Regions from separate parts of the Homo sapiens genome. Here region 1 is linked to region 2. Evidence: promoter capture Hi-C in human tissues and cell types (Jung and others, 2019). All regions are on one chromosome and are shown on one strand. The core of a region is centred on a gene start or on the middle of the fragment in contact, and the rest is flanking DNA. Distances in the headings are between cores, read along the strand shown. Region 1 overlaps GLE1 (GLE1 RNA export mediator). Region 2 holds the start of TRUB2 (TruB pseudouridine synthase family member 2).

Region 1 (3,171 bases), core at 318-2,817, 200 kb before region 2:
TGAGGCGACATACATCCTCTTCAGCTGACAGGATTAAGAGATTAAAGTAAAGACAGGCATAGGAAATCACAAGGGTATTGATTAGGGAAGTGATAAGTGTCCATGAAATCTTTACAATTTATGTTTAGAGATTGCAGTAAAGACAGGCATAAGAAATTATAAAAGTATTAATTTGGGGAACTAATAAATGTCCATGAAATCTTCACAATCCATGTTCTTCTGCCATGGCTTCAGCCAGTCCCTCCATTTGGGGTCCCTGACTTCCCGCAACAGTGCCCAGCTTTTTTTTTTTTTTTTGGAGTCTCGCTCTGTCGCCCAGGCTGGAGTGTAGTGGTGCAATCTTGGCTCACTGCAAACTCCGCCTCCTGGGTTCAAGCGATTCTCCTCCCTCAGCCTCCCAAGTAGCTGGGACTACAGGTGCCTGCCACCATGCCTGGCTAATTTTTGTATTTTTAGTAGAGACGGGGTTTCACTATGTTGGCCAGGCTGGTCTCGAACTCCCGACCTCGTGATCCATCCACCACGGCCTCCCAAAGTGCTGGGATTACCAGTGCAAGCCACCATGTCCAGCTATTTTATTTTTATTTTTTATTTTTTAGAGACGGATTCTCAACTCTGTCACCCAGGCTGGAGTACAGTGGTGCGATTTTGGCTCACTGCAACCTCCACCTCCCAGGTTCGAGTGATTGTCCAGCCTCAGCCTCCTGAGTAGCTGGGATTACAGGCGTGCACCACTATGCCTGCCTAATTTTTGTATTTTTAGTAGAGACAGGGTTTTACTGTGTTGGCCAGGCTGGTGTCAAACTCCTGACCTCAAGTGATCTGCCTGCCTCGGCCTCCGAAAGTGCTGGGATTACAGGTGTGAGCCAACAGGCCCGGCCCTGTGCTGTAATGATTTTAAAACAGATCTGCAAATTGTCTGACAATCCTTCCATACCCTCTACTTCAACCTGAGTGGACTTTATGACTACCGTGACTAACAGAATACGGAAAAAAAAAAAAATAGGCCAGGCACGTGAGTTTTTTTTAAGAAAATGAATAAACTGTCCAGAAACAGCTAATCAGTATGGGAACTAGTATTCCAAAACAATATGCTGGCACTTAGGAAGTCCTAAAGCTTAATAACCTTGTTTCTGATTATTCCCCTTGAATCTCTGATCTGATTACTAGCAATAAGGATCTTTAGATAACTGAGGAATCTCTATATCCTAAAAGGGATCAAGATGAACAAATAAAAAATAATGAATCCAGAAGGACATGTATATCAAGGAACACAAGTGAATCTGAAAAAGAGCTCTGAATATGATAAGAAATGAGAATAAGATGCTCTGAAAAAGGAAGAAGTGGAGAATACAAAAAAACTCATGAAAATTAGACATAATAAATACATATATATTTTTTCAATCAACAGGTGGAGAATAAAATATAGAAATCTTCTAGAAAACAAAACAATAAGACAAAAGGAAAATGAAAGAAAGAATAGGACATATAGAGGATTAACTTAGGCAATGGAGAGGTGAACTAATCAAGGGGAAAAATTTCCAAAGATGCAGGAAATAAATCTTTGAATTAAAACAACTCTGATATGCAGAATTAGTCGTTTCTCACCATCTCCATTGCTACCACCCTACTCTAAGCAACCACCATCTTTCACCCAGATTACAACAATGTTCCAAATATTTTACTTATTTCTCTTGTTTACTTCTGTCTCTTCCCACCACAATATAAGCTCTATGTCTATAATGTTTACTGTTTTATCTAGACCTGGAACAGCATCTAGCACATAGGTGCTCAGCAAATATTTATTGACTCAATGACCAATGAGGCAAGATGTTAGAAGACTTTCATTTTCTTTTTCTTTTTTTTTTTTGAGATAAAGTATTGCCCTGCTGCCCAGGCTAGAGTGCAGTGGCACAATCTTGGCTCACTGCCACCTCTGCCTCCCGGGTTCAAGTGATTCTCCTGCCTCAGCCTCCCCAGTAACTAGTATTATAGGCATGTGCCACCATGCCCGGCTAATTTTTGTATTTTTAGTAGAGATGGGGTTTCGCCATGTTGGCCAGGCCAGTCTGGAACTCCTTATCTCAGGTGATCCACCTGCCTCACCCTCCCAAAGTGCTGGGATTACGGGCATGAGCCTCCGTGCCTGGCCAAGACTTTCATTTTCTAAATTCCTGTACTCTGAAACATTTTTACAAGATCATGCATTGCTTTCCTAATTAAAAAAAAATACATGCTGGGCGCAGTGGCTTATGCCTGTAATCCCAGCACTTTGGGAGGCTGAGGTGGGTGGATCACCTGAGGTCAGGAGTTTGAGACCAGCCTGGCCAACACGGTGAAACCCCGTCTCTACTAAAAAATACAAAAATTAGCCAGGCGTGGTGGCAGGCGCCTGTAATCTCAGCTACTTGGGAGGCTCAGGCAGGAGAATTGCTGGAACCCAGGAGGCGGAGGTTGCAGTGAGCCAAGATTGCACCACTGCACTCCAGCCCGGGCTGACAACAGCAAGACTCTGTCTCAAAAAAACAAAAACAAAAAACAGGCCGGGCACGGTGGCTCATGCCTGTAATCCCAGCACTCTGGGAGGCCGAGGCGGGCAGATCACGAGGTCAGAAGATCAAGACCGTCCTGGCTAACACGGCAAAACCCTGTCTCCACTAAAAATACAAAAAATTAGCTGGGCGTGGTGACAGGCACCTGTAGTCCCAGCTACTTGGGAGGCTGAGGCAAGAGAATAGCATGAACCTGGGAGGCGGAGCTTGCGGTGAGCCGAGATGGTGCCACTGTACTACAGCCTGGGCAACAGAGCAAGACTCCATCTCAAAAACAAAAACAAAAACAAAATACAATCAAATAAATTAATTAAAATAGTGCTGCTATTTTTTCAAGAGGCTAAGGTCCTGACTGGGCATCGTGGCTCATGCCTGTAATCCCAGCACCTTGGGAGGCTGAGGCAGGTGAATCACCTGAGGTCAGGAGTTCGAGACCAGCCTGACCAACATAGTGAAACCCCGTCTCTAGTAAATAGAAAATAAAGTAGCTGGGTGTGGTGGCGCGAGCCTGTAATCCTAGTTACTTGGGAGGCTGAGGCAGGAGAATCACTTGAACCTGGGAGGTGGAGGTTGCAGTGAGCCAAGATTACACCACTGTAGTCCAGTCCAGCCTGGGCAA
Region 2 (2,927 bases), core at 289-2,788:
AAACCACTGGGGACATGGAGATATAGTGTATTTTTTGTTTAAGACAGGGTCTCGCTCTGTCGCCCAGGCTGGAGTGCAATGGCGCAATCACAACTTACTGCAGTCTCGAACTCCCCGGCTCAAATGGTCCTTCCACCTCAGCCTGGGAATACAGCCGCATGCAACCAGCCCCAATTAATTCTTGTATTTTTTTTTGTAGAGATGGGGATTCACCGTGTTGCCCAGGCTGGTTTCAAACTCCTCAGCTCAAGCCATCTGCCCGCTTCGGCCCCCCGATAGGGATTATAGGCGTGAGCCACTATAATAGCGCCTAGCCTGTTTTTGTTAGTAGGAATAACAGTACTTCCCAGAACTCAAAAATCTAGGAGGCATAAGAAAAACACTGTAGAACCCTAGAATGTTCTAGTCACACATCCAGCAAACATTTATTGAGCATTTACTATGTGCCAGGCACTATCCAGAAGGCTGCAGATGCAGTGGAACGAGGCAGACATGGTCCTCGACCTCGGAGTTGACTTTCTAGTAGGATATTATAAACTGATCGGTACTTATGAATCATCTATTTAGTCTAGATGTTCTCAATATGGCTGCATGACAGATTCTCCCAAGTAGTTTAAAGACAGACTTTCGGTTTCACGCCCATTTCTCCCTCCACTGCAGATTCAGATTCAGATTCAGTGCGTTTAGGTGGGATCCAGGAATCTGCATTTTCATAAACGTTCCGAGTGGTTACGAGCTGCAACCAGGTTTGGGTACCCCGACCTAGGCTATGTTCCAGTTACCCACAGGAAACGGCTCCAAGCCGCCCCCACGGGGGCGAGGCGCGGGCGGCCTTACCGTGGCGGTAGGGGTTATAGAGCGCCATCGCCGCGGAGCCGGCGGCCAACAGCCCTTTCTGCAGCGGGGAGGTGGGGAGGTGGTGCGAGTATAGCGGGCCGGCGCCGTCGCTCCTAGCCCGGAGGGGCATTTCTGCGGGGCAAGAAAAAGGCCGAGGTCAGAGGAGCCGGGCGCCCTCAGGCTCCTTCCCGCCTGCGCCCAGAACCCGGCGCCACTTGCCTGCCGCAGGCCGCTGTAGGCCCGGGAGCCCGCAGAGCCGACGGAGGACAGGGCGCAGCAGAGTCGCCATGGCAGCGGGCGTCCGCGGAGGATGGGCGGGTACGAAGAACGCCGCGATTCTGTCAGGCGACGGAGCGTCGGAGGGGTCAAAACTCACTGAAAAACCGATTCTGACGGCGTAGCCTACGGCCTTTCGAGGGGAAACATCGCTTCACGGGCAGAAGGCATGTAGGCCAAGTAGGCGAAGGAAACGCACGCGAACTGTCTACCGTCTACGTCCACCGATCCAAGACTCTCGCCATGTCACCTCGCCCCAGAAAGTGTCTGCAAAGGACACGCAACCACGCTCACTCAGCGCCGGGCCCTATTTCCTTCTCCACAGCCGGTTTTCCCCGAAGACTATAAAATGCGAACCTCTTCCGGCTGTGGAACATGGCGGCGCCCGTGGAAAGGACCACATTTGGGGGCGGGGCCTGGCGGTACTTCCGTCCAGGTCCAGCGGGTGCTGTGATCTTCAAGTATGGGGTCTGCTGGCTTGTCGCGGCTGCATGGGCTTTTCGCGGTCTATAAGCCCCCGGGGCTAAAATGGAAGCACCTGCGGGATACAGTGGAGCTACAACTTCTGAAGGGTGAGTGCCTCGAACCAGACCCACGTTCCCGCTCTCGTTCTCTTGGAAGTCCATCTCCGCTTCTGGTCCTTACCCCAAAACAAAATCACGTGACCTATTCACCTGGGCAGAGCGCTTTCCCAAACGCCTGTTCTCTGTGCTTTCTTACTCCTCACTTTCCTCTGTTTTCCGAGGGGGAAACTGACTCAGTATTGTTCCTTGTCACACGGTTACTACGTTGTAGAGTCTGTTTGAATCCGCCTGTTTCTTAACTACTGCTATACTGCCCTCTGCACCATGGGCTTCTGCTTTGTCTTCTACATCATACTTCCCTGTTGTCTAATCCCCCAAGTGTTTGGACAGAACAAGATATTCCTGGTCAGCATCGTGGTGCACGCCTGTAATCCCAGCTACTCTGGAGGCTGAGGCAGGAGGATCGCTTGAGCCCAAGAGTTTGACGTTACAGTGAGCTATGATGGCGCCATTGCACTTCAGCCTGGGCTACAGAACGAGGCCCTGTCTCTTAAAAAATATTTTATATGTACATATATTTGTATGTATGTGTGTATATATTATCTCTGTGTGTTCAGGTCTCAATGCCAGGAAGCCTCCCGCTCCTAAACAGCGTGTTCGCTTCTTGCTGGGCCCCATGGAAGGCAGCGAAGAGAAGGAGCTGACCCTCACAGCCACCAGCGTACCCTCTTTCATCAACCATCCACTGGGTAAGGCAGATTTAAGCAGGATCCTGTGTGTCACTTCCCAGGAAATCCCTGAGCCGAGTCAGTGTCCCAGTGCTCAGATTCCTGTGCCAGGCCCTTGAAGGTCCACAGAGGAGTGAGGTATTAGACCAGGAATTGGCAGATTTCCTTGGAAAGGGCCAGATACTGAATGTTTTAGTTTTCAGGCCATGTGATTTCCGTTGGAACTGCTCAACTCTGCCAATGTAGTGCCAAACAGCTATAGACAGTATCTAAAGGAATGAGCCTAGCTGTATTCCAATAGAACTTTATGAATATTCATATTTGAACTTCAGGTAATTTTCACGTGTCACTAAGTACAGTTGCCTCTGAGTCCATGAGTTCCACATCCCATGATCCAGCTTCAGATTGGCAGTATTTGGGAAGAAAAACACAAAGTTCCAAAAAGCAAAACTTGAATTTGCTGTGCACCTAGTACTGTGTTGAATCCACTCAAGGTGATGCATAGGCATTATATTAGGCATTATAAGTAATCTAGCTAGGCGTGGTGGCTCACGCCTGTAAT

What was found. The method cuts DNA at HindIII sites, captures the fragments that hold promoters and counts their contacts. A contact is called where the count stands out against the background at its distance.
Region 1: a contact is called between a fragment that was not itself captured here and the fragment with the promoter of TRUB2 in region 2, in 1 of the 25 tissues and cell types used here (pancreas).

What each region holds. Positions count from the first base shown.
Region 1 is chr9:128,515,989-128,519,159 of GRCh38, reverse strand. The region is part of intron 3 of GLE1 (GLE1 RNA export mediator); the gene reads right to left. Among named protein-coding and RNA genes, the nearest start is that of GLE1, 13 kb to the right of the region's middle. The HindIII fragment of the contact is 4,090 bases long and covers 1-3,171 here.
Region 2 is chr9:128,321,058-128,323,984 of GRCh38, reverse strand. It overlaps TRUB2 (TruB pseudouridine synthase family member 2), which reads left to right and starts at 1,538. Exons shown (of 8, transcript NM_015679.3): 1 at 1,538-1,685; 2 at 2,255-2,386. The coding sequence starts at 1,577. COQ4 (coenzyme Q4) reads right to left here and starts at 1,146. Exons shown (of 7, transcript NM_016035.5): 1 at 1,057-1,146; 2 at 838-969. The coding sequence starts at 1,126. RefSeq lists a silencer at 859-918 and an enhancer at 1,299-1,838. The HindIII fragment of the contact is 10,812 bases long and covers 1-2,927 here.